Regions from separate parts of the Homo sapiens genome. Here region 2 is linked to region 1. Evidence: promoter capture Hi-C in 16 types of primary human blood cells and fetal thymus (Javierre and others, 2016). All regions are on one chromosome and are shown on one strand. The core of a region is centred on a gene start or on the middle of the fragment in contact, and the rest is flanking DNA. Distances in the headings are between cores, read along the strand shown. Region 1 holds the start of ZC3H6 (zinc finger CCCH-type containing 6). Region 2 overlaps ACTR3-AS1 (ACTR3 antisense RNA 1).

Region 1 (5,848 bases), core at 1-2,500:
TCATTGCAATTGTTTTTGAATGCATTCCATTTATGTATTAGTAAAATGTATTATTAAGGAAAGACAAATTAAGTCAGATATTTGGATTAATCATTGAGTCTATCATTTTAGTAAAAAGCAAGGAACTTTCCTTCAGGACTAATATATTAAATAGGCCAAAACACTGACTTGTCATTTAAAAATTTTTTAAGGTCACTTCATAAGTATAAAAAACTCATGCATGGTCGGGCGCGGTGGCTCACGGCTGTAACCCCAGCACTTTGGGAGACCCAGGAGGGCGGATCACCTGAAGTCAGGAGTTCGAGACCAGCCTGGCCAAAATGGGGAAACCCCATCTCTACTAAAAATACAAAAATTAGCCAGGCGTGGTGGCGCGTGCCTGCAGTCCCAGCTACTCGGGAGGCTGAGGCAGGAAAATTGCTTGAACCCAGGAGGCAGAGGTTGCAGTGAGCCGAGAGCGCGACACTGCACTCCAGCCTGGGCGACAGAGGAGACTCCATCTCAGAAAAAAAAAAAAAAAAAAAAAAAAAAAAAAAAAAAAAAGGCATGCCTAATAGTATTTATAAAATACTCGCATACATTTTACATGTTAATATTATTACGAAATAAAGTAACGTTTATATAATTATTTCAATAGCTATTCCTATTTAAGTAATAATTGGGTAAATTTAACAGCAAATACAAGAAAAAACTGCATGGCAAGCTATTTTCCTTAAAACATGATTCTGAACACTAAACGTTACAAAAACAGATACTTGCTACAACTGTGAAGGAGAAACTGCATTTCCCTATTATTACAAGAACAAAGGTTTTCACAAAAAAATTTAAGGACTCTACAGCCGCCTTGTTCTTTGTTATCCCACCCCTGCCCGCCTCGGCTAACGGTTTTGGGGCCCGTTTGCTTGGTGCGTCTGGAACTCCTCGGGCGGCGGGCGTCTCGCAGGAAAAACCGCGGCCCGTACTGCGCCGGGAGCAGAAGCGCTGGTGGCCCTCGTAGGTCCCGTGGGCTGCCTCCCCCTCCTGCAGACACTCGAGGAGCCATCCGGCCGCGTCTCTCGCCGCCCGGCCCCGCCACTAGGCTGCCGCCTCCGCCGCTGCACAGAGAAGGGCGAAGACCCGCCCCTGCAGGTGATTGACGGGCACTCTCCTCCAATGGTCAACGCGCTCGGCCCCGGCGGGCTGGGCAAGGGCCGCGGCTCGCGGAGGAATCTCTCTTGCCCTTTAGTCCCGGGCAAGGTGTTGCGGCCGGCGCCATTTTCTCGAGCCGCCTGTTTCGGGTGCCGCCATGTTGGTGAGGAGAAATCACCGTTACGGCCACTGTCCAAATCCCCGCGTCGCTGCACGCCGCCCGCCCGCTCCCACGCCACAGCCACCGGCGGCGAATAGAGACTAGAGCGGCAGCGCCGGCAGCGCGGGGCCGTTGCCCAGTGTTTGCAGTTAGAGCCCCATCTCTCTGGCGTGGTTGTTAATAGACTGGAAAGTCTGTGTCTGTGTCGCTCACTAGTAACCGTGAGTTTTTACCACTTCGTCACCTGTCGGCGGCGGCCGGGAGCAGGTTCCCGCAGGCGGCGCGGGGGGTCTTCCCCGCGCCCCGCCGCCGCCGGCCTCGCAGACCTGCCCTCCAGCCCCGCCCCGTTCTTGACCAAACATGACAGACTCTGAACATGCAGGGCACGACAGGTCGGGAACCCTTCTTGTCTGTCTTTCTGTCGGATGAGAGGAGGGGTCTGGGGCGGCGGGAGCGGGCCGGGGCCGGGCGCCTCCTGCATGACCTAGACGTCTCTGTGTGGCTCCGTCAGTTCCATGACGCGCACTCTTATGTAAACTGCTGGATCGCGGCCGCGGGGGAGGTCGGCCCGGCCGCGCCCGCCTCCCCGAGCCGGGGTCGCTGCTCGCCAGCGCCGGCCCCGCCCCCGGCCGGGCACGTGCGAGCCCCCCGCCCCCCGGGCGGGCTCCGTGTGCGCCGGGCGGCTCTCAGCGTCCCGGCTCGGTGCTGAGGTCCTGCTTCTGCCCGTCCAGGTGTCGGTGCTCCCGGCCAGATAGGACCAGCCAGGAATTTTCAGGAATGGGTGTTTTGATATTTGACTGCTTCCCGAGAACCGAGAACACCTCTAAAAAAATAAACATTTGGTTTTCAGGGAAGTTTTAAGCAGCACCAAAAGGCCATCTGTTGTATACAGTCTTATCCCTTGGAATTTGAGATGGCAAGTTTCAAGTTTAATATGTTAACACAAAATACTTAGGCTTTGCAGAAACTTAGTTTAGCACAGTTTTACCCTAACGTAAAAACTCCATGGATTATTCCGGCTAGCCCAATTTTCTAGATGGTGTGTATCACTTGAATATTGAGATTCTGATTTTTTATTTTTTGCTCTGTGCCTTAAGAGGCACATTCTTGTTTCCATTCGAGTTTGGGGACATTTACAAAGTATACTGTAGCATACTTAAATTTTGGTTATAATTCAAATTTTCATTCGTATATATCTTTAATAATGCGAAAGGGGGGCTTTCATTCATTAAACTTACTGAAACAAAATCCATTGCATCTGATTCTTACTTAGAATATTAATTTGAAAATCTAGAACCTCACAATTACTCCTTTGTGAATAGAAGTAAGAAAAAATATACGTTTTACTATAGACTATATACATTGCTGAAGTTTTATCTGTAGTAATGTGATCGGCTTGGTAAAGCATCCTAAACACGTTTTTTAAAACCCAGAAGCAAAAATCACAAACACTGCTGAAATTTGAAATATCTAAATACCTAGCAATCTTGAGAGGGATAAAAATGGTATTTCAACAACTTCAGTATTGTAATAATAAAAGTAGATTCCCAGAGGGCACGTCAATCAAAGTGTAAAAATTTTTGGAAAGTAAAATGCACTTTTAAAAATGATAAGCTTGCACTTGGCACATTTTTAATGATTTTTTTAACGTTATCTTTTGTATTAAAAAGGAAATTCTTAGAATGGGTTGACTAATACCTTGCTCTTGAGGTATGGACAAACCAATGATGGGGTTTTGCTAATGGAGCCTAAAATCCTTTTTTTTTTTAATATGGAAGAATATCTGTTCCCCTCTCTTAGTGCACAAAGTAACTTCTATATATGGAGTTATGTATTGTACATCATGAAAAAACAATGCCATCAAATTCAAGTATCAAAATAATTTTGCTGGTAAGGAACTGTGATGACAGACCTTTTAAAGAATTTGAAATTTTAAAATACTGGTTTAGAGGTTAGAAAACTTTAAAGAATTATTTGTAAGATATGTTAATAGGTTGGTAGTAGGAGCTAAAGATTAAGATTAGTCTATTTTATTTAAAATTCGGACTAAAAGTATTTTCTAGTGATTTCTGAAACAAAAAGGTTAGCTCCACTTTAACTTAGCCAATTGTTAAGTGGCATCATTGTGCTGAGATGAAGGAGATGGTTTTTTTTTTTCATGCTTTTTTTGTCAACCCACATGAAAAACAAAACAACTACATCAAAAACAAAGTGAACTAGAAGTCAGGAGAAATTCTACAAGATCAGATCAATGGTTCTAAACCTTCCCTGGGGAACTTTTTTTCTTTAAAGTATTGGCGCTATTTCTGTTGGTCTGGACCTCAGCCTGGGTTTTAAGAGTTCTAAAAGCTCCCCAGGAAATTCTAATATGTGCCAAATTGAGAACCGCTATACTCGATCAGTGTTTCCCAATGATAGTTAATCATCAGAATCACTTTGGGGAATAAATTTTTGTTCTGCCCAGAGCAACTGAATCAGAATCTCTAGGGTATTTTTCATAGGCTCCCTGGGAAATTCTTAAGAAATTTGGGGAAAAAATGGACTAATCTGCGGGCTTCCAAAATACTGTATCTTTCCATATAATAGCTATTTTATGCTGTTATAAAAGTTTCTGTGAATTAAGTGGAGAAAAATATATGAAACTTGGTATATGGAGCTAGGCTTTGTCTCAAGGATTTTATTTTATTTATTTTATTTTTTTGAGACGGAGTCTCGCTCTGTCGCCCAGGCTGGAGTGCAGTGGCACTGTCTCAGCTCACTGCAAGCTCCACTTCCCGCCTTCACACCATTCTCCTGCCTCAGCCTCCTGAGTAGCTGGGATTACAGGCACCCGCCACCACACCTGGCTAATTTTTTGTATTTTTAGTAGAGACCACGTTTCATCATGTTGGACAGGCTGGTCTTGAACTCCTGACCTCAAGTGATCCACCAGCCTTGGCCTCCCAAAGTTTTGGGATTACAGGGGTGAGCCACTGTGCCCAGCCAAGGATATTCTTTTTATAACATTTTCAAAAATTAAGGCATATTGTGTATGCAGGAAAAAAAATGAAGCCTATGATTTATATTTACAATTGCTTTGATTTTATACAAATTAAAATATTACTGTTTATGAGAATGAGATTCTAAATGTAAATGGAATTCACAGAATGCATAATTTTTTTCTCGTTTAAAGAAATAGAGTCTCGCTATATGCCTAGGCTGGTCTTGAACTCCTGGGCTCCAGCCATCCTCCCATTTCAGCCTCCCAGAGTGTTGGGATTACAGGCGTGAGCCACCACGCCTGGCCTTGTACATGTTATATAGTGAACATTTTGCACAAGATTGTTTGCCAAATGAATAATTTAAAAAAAATCCATTTAGTGTACTTTCCTTTAAATATTTTCACACCTGGAGTTAAAACATTGTATTTTATAAGATGTTATTAATATAAAAATACTTCTAATTCTACTTGTGGCTATGTAGAATGTAGTAGAGGACTTTTGCATAAGCCCAGAGCCTAGTTTCTAAAGGTCTTTAGGGATTTAGGGAAATCAGAGGGAGGTATAATTCTGGTCTCTCGTCGTTCAGTTCTTTTTCATTCAGTTCTCTCAGGCACGACTCCAGCCGCTCAGTTTTATATTTCAACTGGATGTTGACCCAATTAAAACAATTCACAACTCCTGAAGACGAAATACTATGAGTCCCTGCTTTGGACACATCTGTAGTAGAGTAGGAAAAGATAAATATAACCCAAGTAATTGTTACAGAATTTTCTGAAATATACTAATGGTAAAAGGTTTTGTAGGGCTTGTACTGGGGAAAAAGATAATTTTTTAGCATGAACCTTTTAAGAGCTTGTGAGTCTCAAAGAGTCTTTAACTGATAGGTGATATGGATAATACTCCCCTTTGGGAGGAGGTTTATAATACATAAACAACCTCCCCACCCTTCCCTCGCAGCTTTCTGTCCTGTACTACAAGAACAACAAAACTCCAACTAGTCAGAATTGCAAGTGGTTTATGGCCCCCCATATAGATTGAAAACTTGCTAAGAGACTGCACTGGAGAACCTGAAAGGATGAGGATGGAAAAGATGATTATACTTTTCATTTGCAACAGGGCTTTCATTTGATTCTCACATTAATCCCATGTGGTAGTTAATTAAGGTAGCATTACAAGGTTCAGTGAATTGTCTGAGATCTCATAAATACAACCTAGATAAGAACCCAGGTATTATTATTTTCAGTCTTGCAATATTATTTTCCTACTTGCAATATTATCTTCACTCTTCATTAAGTTTGCACAGCAAAGTAATGGAATAAGTTCTGGGCTTTAATCCTTGAGTAGTTTGGAATTGTAATGTGCTACATTTGAGAGAGAGCCCTTCATTTTGAATAAAACCTTGGTACTGATCCTGATCTTCTAACTTGGGTTAATGCTCTTCCCCTTTTCATTATTTTTTTCATTTGTGAAATGAAGTAGTTGCACTAGATCATTTTCAATTTTCCTTCCCACTTAAATCAATTTTAATTAAAAAAATTGCAGATGCCTTTTCTCAGATTAGAGTACACTTTTTGCTCCA
Region 2 (5,557 bases), core at 2,997-5,496, 1.6 Mb after region 1:
TGTCATCCATCTAGAATCTGTTTTTATATATAAGAAAAGGTGTATATGTTTGCGCAAGTGTGTGTGTGTGTGTTTGGGGGGGCGGGGTGGGGGCAGACAGGGCGTAACTTTTCTTTAAATTAGAGTCAAAATTTAATTAAACTATTCATTCTTTACAGGCAGTGAGGGGATTAGGATCTTATCCCACAGAATCTCACCTCATTTCAAATGTTGTACAGATATTATCTGAGATATATTTTCAGGCCGGGTGCGGTGGCTCACGCCTGTAATCTCAGCACTTTGGGAAGCCGAGGCGGGTGGATCATTTGAGGTCAGGAGTTCAAGACCATCCTGGCCAACATGGTGAAACCCCATCTCTACTAAAAATACAAAAATTAGCCGGGTGTGGTGGTACACGTCTATAATCCCAGCTACTTGAGAGGCTGAGGCAGGAGAATCGCTTGAATCCAGGAGGTGGAGCTTGCAGTGAGCCGAGAAAACGCCACTGCACTCCAGCCTGGGCGACAGGGCAAGACTCTGTCTCAAAAAAAAAAACGAAAAAAGAAATATATTTTCAATGAAATCAAGCATATAATGACTATTTTTATCCCAGCATCTTGGCTTCTTCAGGCTGCTATAACAAAGCATCCCTAGTGGAGCATCCCTAATCTGAAAATCCAAAATCCAAAACGTTCCAAAATCTGAAACCTTCTGAACACTGACATGACACCACAAATGGAAAATTCTACATGTAAATACACGTAAATACAAACTTTGTTTCATGCACAAATTAAAAATATTGTATAAAATTACCTTCAGGCTATGCATATAAGGCATATATGAAATATAAATGAATTTTGTGTTTACCCATGGGTCTCATCCCCAAGATGTTTCATTTTGTATATGTGCATACTCCCAAATCTGAAAAAATCCAAAATCTTAAATATCTGTAGTCCTAAGCATTTTAGATAAGGGATATTCAATCCCTTATCCATAAACAATTTATTTATAAACAACACAAATTTAGGCTTTGTAAAAAATAGAAATTTGGCCGGGTGTGGTGGCTCACGCTTGTAATCCCAGCACTTTGGGAGGCCGAGGCAGGCACATCACTTGAGCTCAGGAGTTTGAGACCAGCCTGGTCAACATGGTGAAACCTTGTCTCTACCAAAAATACAAAAATTAGCAGGGCTTCGTGGCATGCGCCTGTTGTCCCAGCTACTCGGGAGGCTGAGGCAGGAGAATTGCTTGAACCCGGAAGGCAGAGGTTGCAGTGAGCCAAGATTGAGCCACTGCACTCCAGCCTGGGGGACAAGTGAGACTCCACCTCAAAAAACAAACAATCAAACACAATATAAATTTATTTCTCATAGTTCTGCAAGCTGAGAAGTCCAAGATCAAGATGTGAGCAGATCCACCTTTGGTGAAGGGCTGCTTTCCATTTGATAGATGGCTGTCTTCTTGTGTCCTCACATGGTGGAAAGGGTGAGGCAGTTTTTTGAGGTCTCTTTTAAAAGAGAACTAATCCCATTCATGTGGGGGTCTGCCCTCATGACCTAATCACTTTCCAAAGGCCCCACTTCCTAATACCATCACCCTGGGGGTTAAATTTTCAACACACAAATTGGTTGGAGAGTGAGCGAACATAGACATTCAGTCTATAGCCCCCAGGGATGTAGCCACTGAATAAAATAATCTAGAACTTCATCTAGAGGCAGTTTATAAGTCACATAAGAAAACCAGTTTTACTTATAGTCACATAAAACTTTTGATAAAAAACAACCCTAGTTGATAAGCCATTTGTTTACTGGACTTGGCTCTGAAGAAATGACTTTTGGCTAATCCTCAAAATGAAATCTACTCACAGAGGGCAAGATCTGCCACCAGTGAAGATGTTTAAAACAATGTGCTGTAGGCTTTGAAGGCAAGTCTAAAGAAGAGCTTCTAAAAATATTTTGCACAATGGTAGCATTAAAAGAGTAGGCACATGGGCCCCAAGATAACATCTGTGAAGAGGAGGACCAGTGTGTGTTTCCTTTTGTATGTTTAAGTACTAAGTCAGTGATTACTTTATAATTAAACCATATTCCTCTTGATCTGTCCATAATAAGGTCACTCTGTAATTTATAATAGGCTTCTTACCAAATTCAAGCTTTACAACAACCCTATAGGTTAAATATTCCTGTGAATTTTATAGATGAAGAAACAGAGTAAGTGAAAGAGTTCATACTCAATTCAAGTCTCTTGAGTCTAAAATCAGTGCTCTCTCTACATAAGAAGTTAGTTGCTAAGATCACACAACTTGAGAAGAGAGAAGACAGTTTTCACAGTCCCTCCCCTCTGACCACTAGGCTGCTTGGGGTACTTTTACAACTTACCTGCTCTGAATTAAGGCTCTCTGTGAATCTGATTCATCTGCCAATTTGCAAACAGTCAGCCCTGTAGTACGTACCTAAGTTGATTTTTAAAATACTATTTCTCATCTTAAAATAATGGAAATTGAGTGACATAAATTTCCTGGACACTTTTTAAGATCCAAAGACAATTTGCTAATTTGTCGTTACAATTAAAGAGCCCCCCAAAAGGCGTAAGAACTGGATTTTGACTTGGACTTCTGTTCCTTAGTTTCTTTAACATATTGGGGGCCGGGAGTGGTGGCTCACACCTGTAATCCCAGCACTTTGGGAGGCCGAGGCGGGCAGATCACGAGGTCAGGAGATTGAGACCATCCTGGCTAACACAGTGAAACCCCGTCTCTACAAAAAATACAAAAAAAAAAAAAAAAAATTAGCCGGGTATGGTGGCGGGCGCCTGTAGTCCCAGCTACTCAGGAGGCTGAGGTAGGAGAATGGCATGAACCCAGGAGGCAGAGCTTGCAGTGAGCCGAGATCGCACTACACTGCACTCCAGCCTGGGCGACAGAGCAAGATTCCATCTCAAAAAAAAAAAGAAAAAGATATTGGGAAAACTCACTTAAACTCTATGGGCTTCTGTACCACTAAGGCTTCTCAAATTTGATGCAAGTAATGGGAACTTGCTGTGGCTAACTTGAGCCACAGGAGAAGGATACTGCAAGACTCACAAATGCTTGAAAGTTTCGGAACAGGTTTGGAAATGGGTAAGAACCAAGGACCGGGTTGACCTGAACTGAAAGGAAATTGAGGTGCTATTAGGGACAAATATGAAATGAAGGATGAACTGTCTCTGACATCCTTTGCTTCTGTGTTTGGAGATGAGTAAGCAGGGAGTGGGTGCATATGCAAACAGGGTGGTCAGAAATGCTTTGGCCGGATGTGTGACTGAAGGCTATGTGCAGCTGAGGAAGGCTGGGCCACCACAGTAGCAGAGAGGCTGACCAATTTGGCATGCAGCAAGCAGGAAGTAGAAGGGATCTTAAGCAAGCAAAGTGTTTGGGTAGACAAGATTATGAGGAATGAGCACCAATGACATTTCCAACAAGCACTGAAAGCTTCCAAATGCTTCTAACAGTTACTGCCTGTACAAACACAGGACAGTCTTGACTATGTGAGACTGTGACAGTTTCCTCATGCCTATGAAATGAGAGACAGTACTTAGCACTGACATGAGCTTCATATTTGAAGGCAGCAAACTACTGAACCACATGTAGCTTCCGAAATCAAAAGATGCAAACTGGCAGACCACAGGTCAGATATGACATGCAGAAAAAAATTAGTTACTATCTTAGCCTAGTTTGTGCTGCTTACAGAATATCAGAGACTGGGTACTTTATAGAGAACACAAATTATTTTTCATAGTTTTAGAGGCTGGGAAGTCCAAGATCAAAGGGCCATCATCTCGTGAAGGCGTCCCTGCTGTGTCAAAACATGGTGGAAGGCATCACATGGGCAAAAGAGAGAGAGGGAAGCGGGGGCAAACTCCTTTTTATCAGGCACCCAGTCCTGTGATTCATTCATGAAGACAGTGTCCTCCTGGCCTAATCACCTCTTAAAGCTCCCACCTCTCAGCACTGTTGCACTGGAAATTATATTTCTCACACATGAACTTTGGGGAACACATTCAAACCATTACAGTTACCAAAGATAAAAATGCAGATTTCAGATTTCTCTTGGGGAAGAAAAAAGGCTCTGGCAATACCAGGGCTGTATTTCCACATGGCAACAGTTGTCTGTTGCCTTCTGTTGGGTTGTGGGCTCTCACATTGCCATACCCTCCTCATGGCCCCCTTCACTCATAACAGTACCTGCCTAGACCTCGAAGCACTAGTTTCCAACCCTGCTTGAGTTAACTACTTCCATGACAACTGTGCAAGGCCAGAGTGTGGGCAGCTACCTTGAGGGCCACCGGCATGGGCTGCCCAAGTGACCGAGGGCACTAACCTCTGCTCTCGAAACTTCTTTGGTAGGATCTCTTCACTCCTGACTTACTACTTGTAACTGCTGGAAACAACCATTTATTCTACCCCTACTAAACCACATCTGTCTTTTCTGTCAGAGCCAATCTTCAAGCATATGCTTCCTCAAAAGACTTTAATTACCAGGTAGTAGAAGCGGCAGCAAAGAGTCCCCATCTAGCATCTTCTAAAATGTAGTGGAGAAACCAACGACAACGAATCTGAGACAACCAGTTGTTTGACTTCTCTGAAAACAACCTCTAAAAAAAGCCTTCTCTCGTGAATAGCTGCAGACATGCTGGGCACTAATTGATGATGATGCCCTTTAGTGAGTCTCCTCTGCACATACCTGATTCCATTTGGATGCTGGCCCTCACATACTTCTATCTGCGAACTCCGGAACACAGAATATCATACAATGTATGATTCAATCTGGACTCTGCTGGAGCCATTCTCTACAAAGCAGACACAACTTTTTCTTGCCTAAATCCTTTCAAGTTGCTTTATTTTTATTTTTAAACTAATTACCATAAATCTAATTTATCAAGCTGCTTTTAAGATAAACTTTAAAATGCTTAGAGCAGTCTACAAATTCTTGCACTGTTTCACTCTTCCTTATCTCTCAGTCTTCATCTCCCATTGCATCTTCTCTGACTCTTTCATATGGATCTTCTTTCAATTTGTGGAAGAAGCCAAGCTTGTTCCTGCCTCAGGTCCTTGACACTTGCTGTTCACTCTCCTGGGAGACTCTTCCCCCCATCTTAGCTTTTAAATACCAGCTGGTCAGACTCCTTACCTGCCTTCCACCTTCCTCTCATTCTCCCACTCCTCGCCTTCATTTCTCAGAGTCCTCCGCTCTCTTCTTTCTATTGCTCTTAACACAATTTGTCTGTTTTCCGCTAATCTGTAAACTCTACAAGAGCACTTAACTATTTTGCATCCCACCGAATATTCGGAGTCAGCACAGACCCCGTCATAATAGAGTAGGTAAGCAATGCTTACCTGTCAAATGAATGAATGAAACACCCGATTCATCCCCCAAGCCAGCTTAATACATTAGATGATCTTATGGACTGAATAAGACATCCCTCCTTTTAAAGAATATTTTTGTTTTAGCTTCACATCAGCAAACCCCGAACGGTTCATCCTAAGATAAGCCTGGTAGAGAGGAAAGATACTAACCTTCTAGGGTCCTAAAGTGGAACT

What was found. The method cuts DNA at HindIII sites, captures the fragments that hold promoters and counts their contacts. A CHiCAGO score of 5 or more calls a contact.
Region 2: a contact is called between a fragment that was not itself captured here and the fragment with the promoter of ZC3H6 in region 1, in 1 of 17 cell types (neutrophils). The highest score is 7.1, in neutrophils.

What each region holds. Positions count from the first base shown.
Region 1 is chr2:112,274,347-112,280,194 of GRCh38, forward strand. It overlaps ZC3H6 (zinc finger CCCH-type containing 6), which reads left to right and starts at 1,251. Exons shown (of 12, transcript NM_198581.3): 1 at 1,251-1,680. The coding sequence starts at 1,649. RefSeq lists enhancers at 953-1,525, 1,141-1,350 and a silencer at 1,541-2,020. The HindIII fragment of the contact is 12,828 bases long and covers 1-2,900 here.
Region 2 is chr2:113,883,363-113,888,919 of GRCh38, forward strand. All of the region lies in intron 1 of ACTR3-AS1 (ACTR3 antisense RNA 1), which reads right to left. LOC124906071 (a long non-coding RNA gene) reads right to left here. Exons shown (of 3, transcript XR_007087205.1): 1 at 4,701-5,557. Among named protein-coding and RNA genes, the nearest start is that of ACTR3, 3.9 kb to the right of the region's middle. RefSeq lists enhancers at 3,240-3,289, 3,300-3,409. The HindIII fragment of the contact is 1,600 bases long and covers 3,447-5,046 here.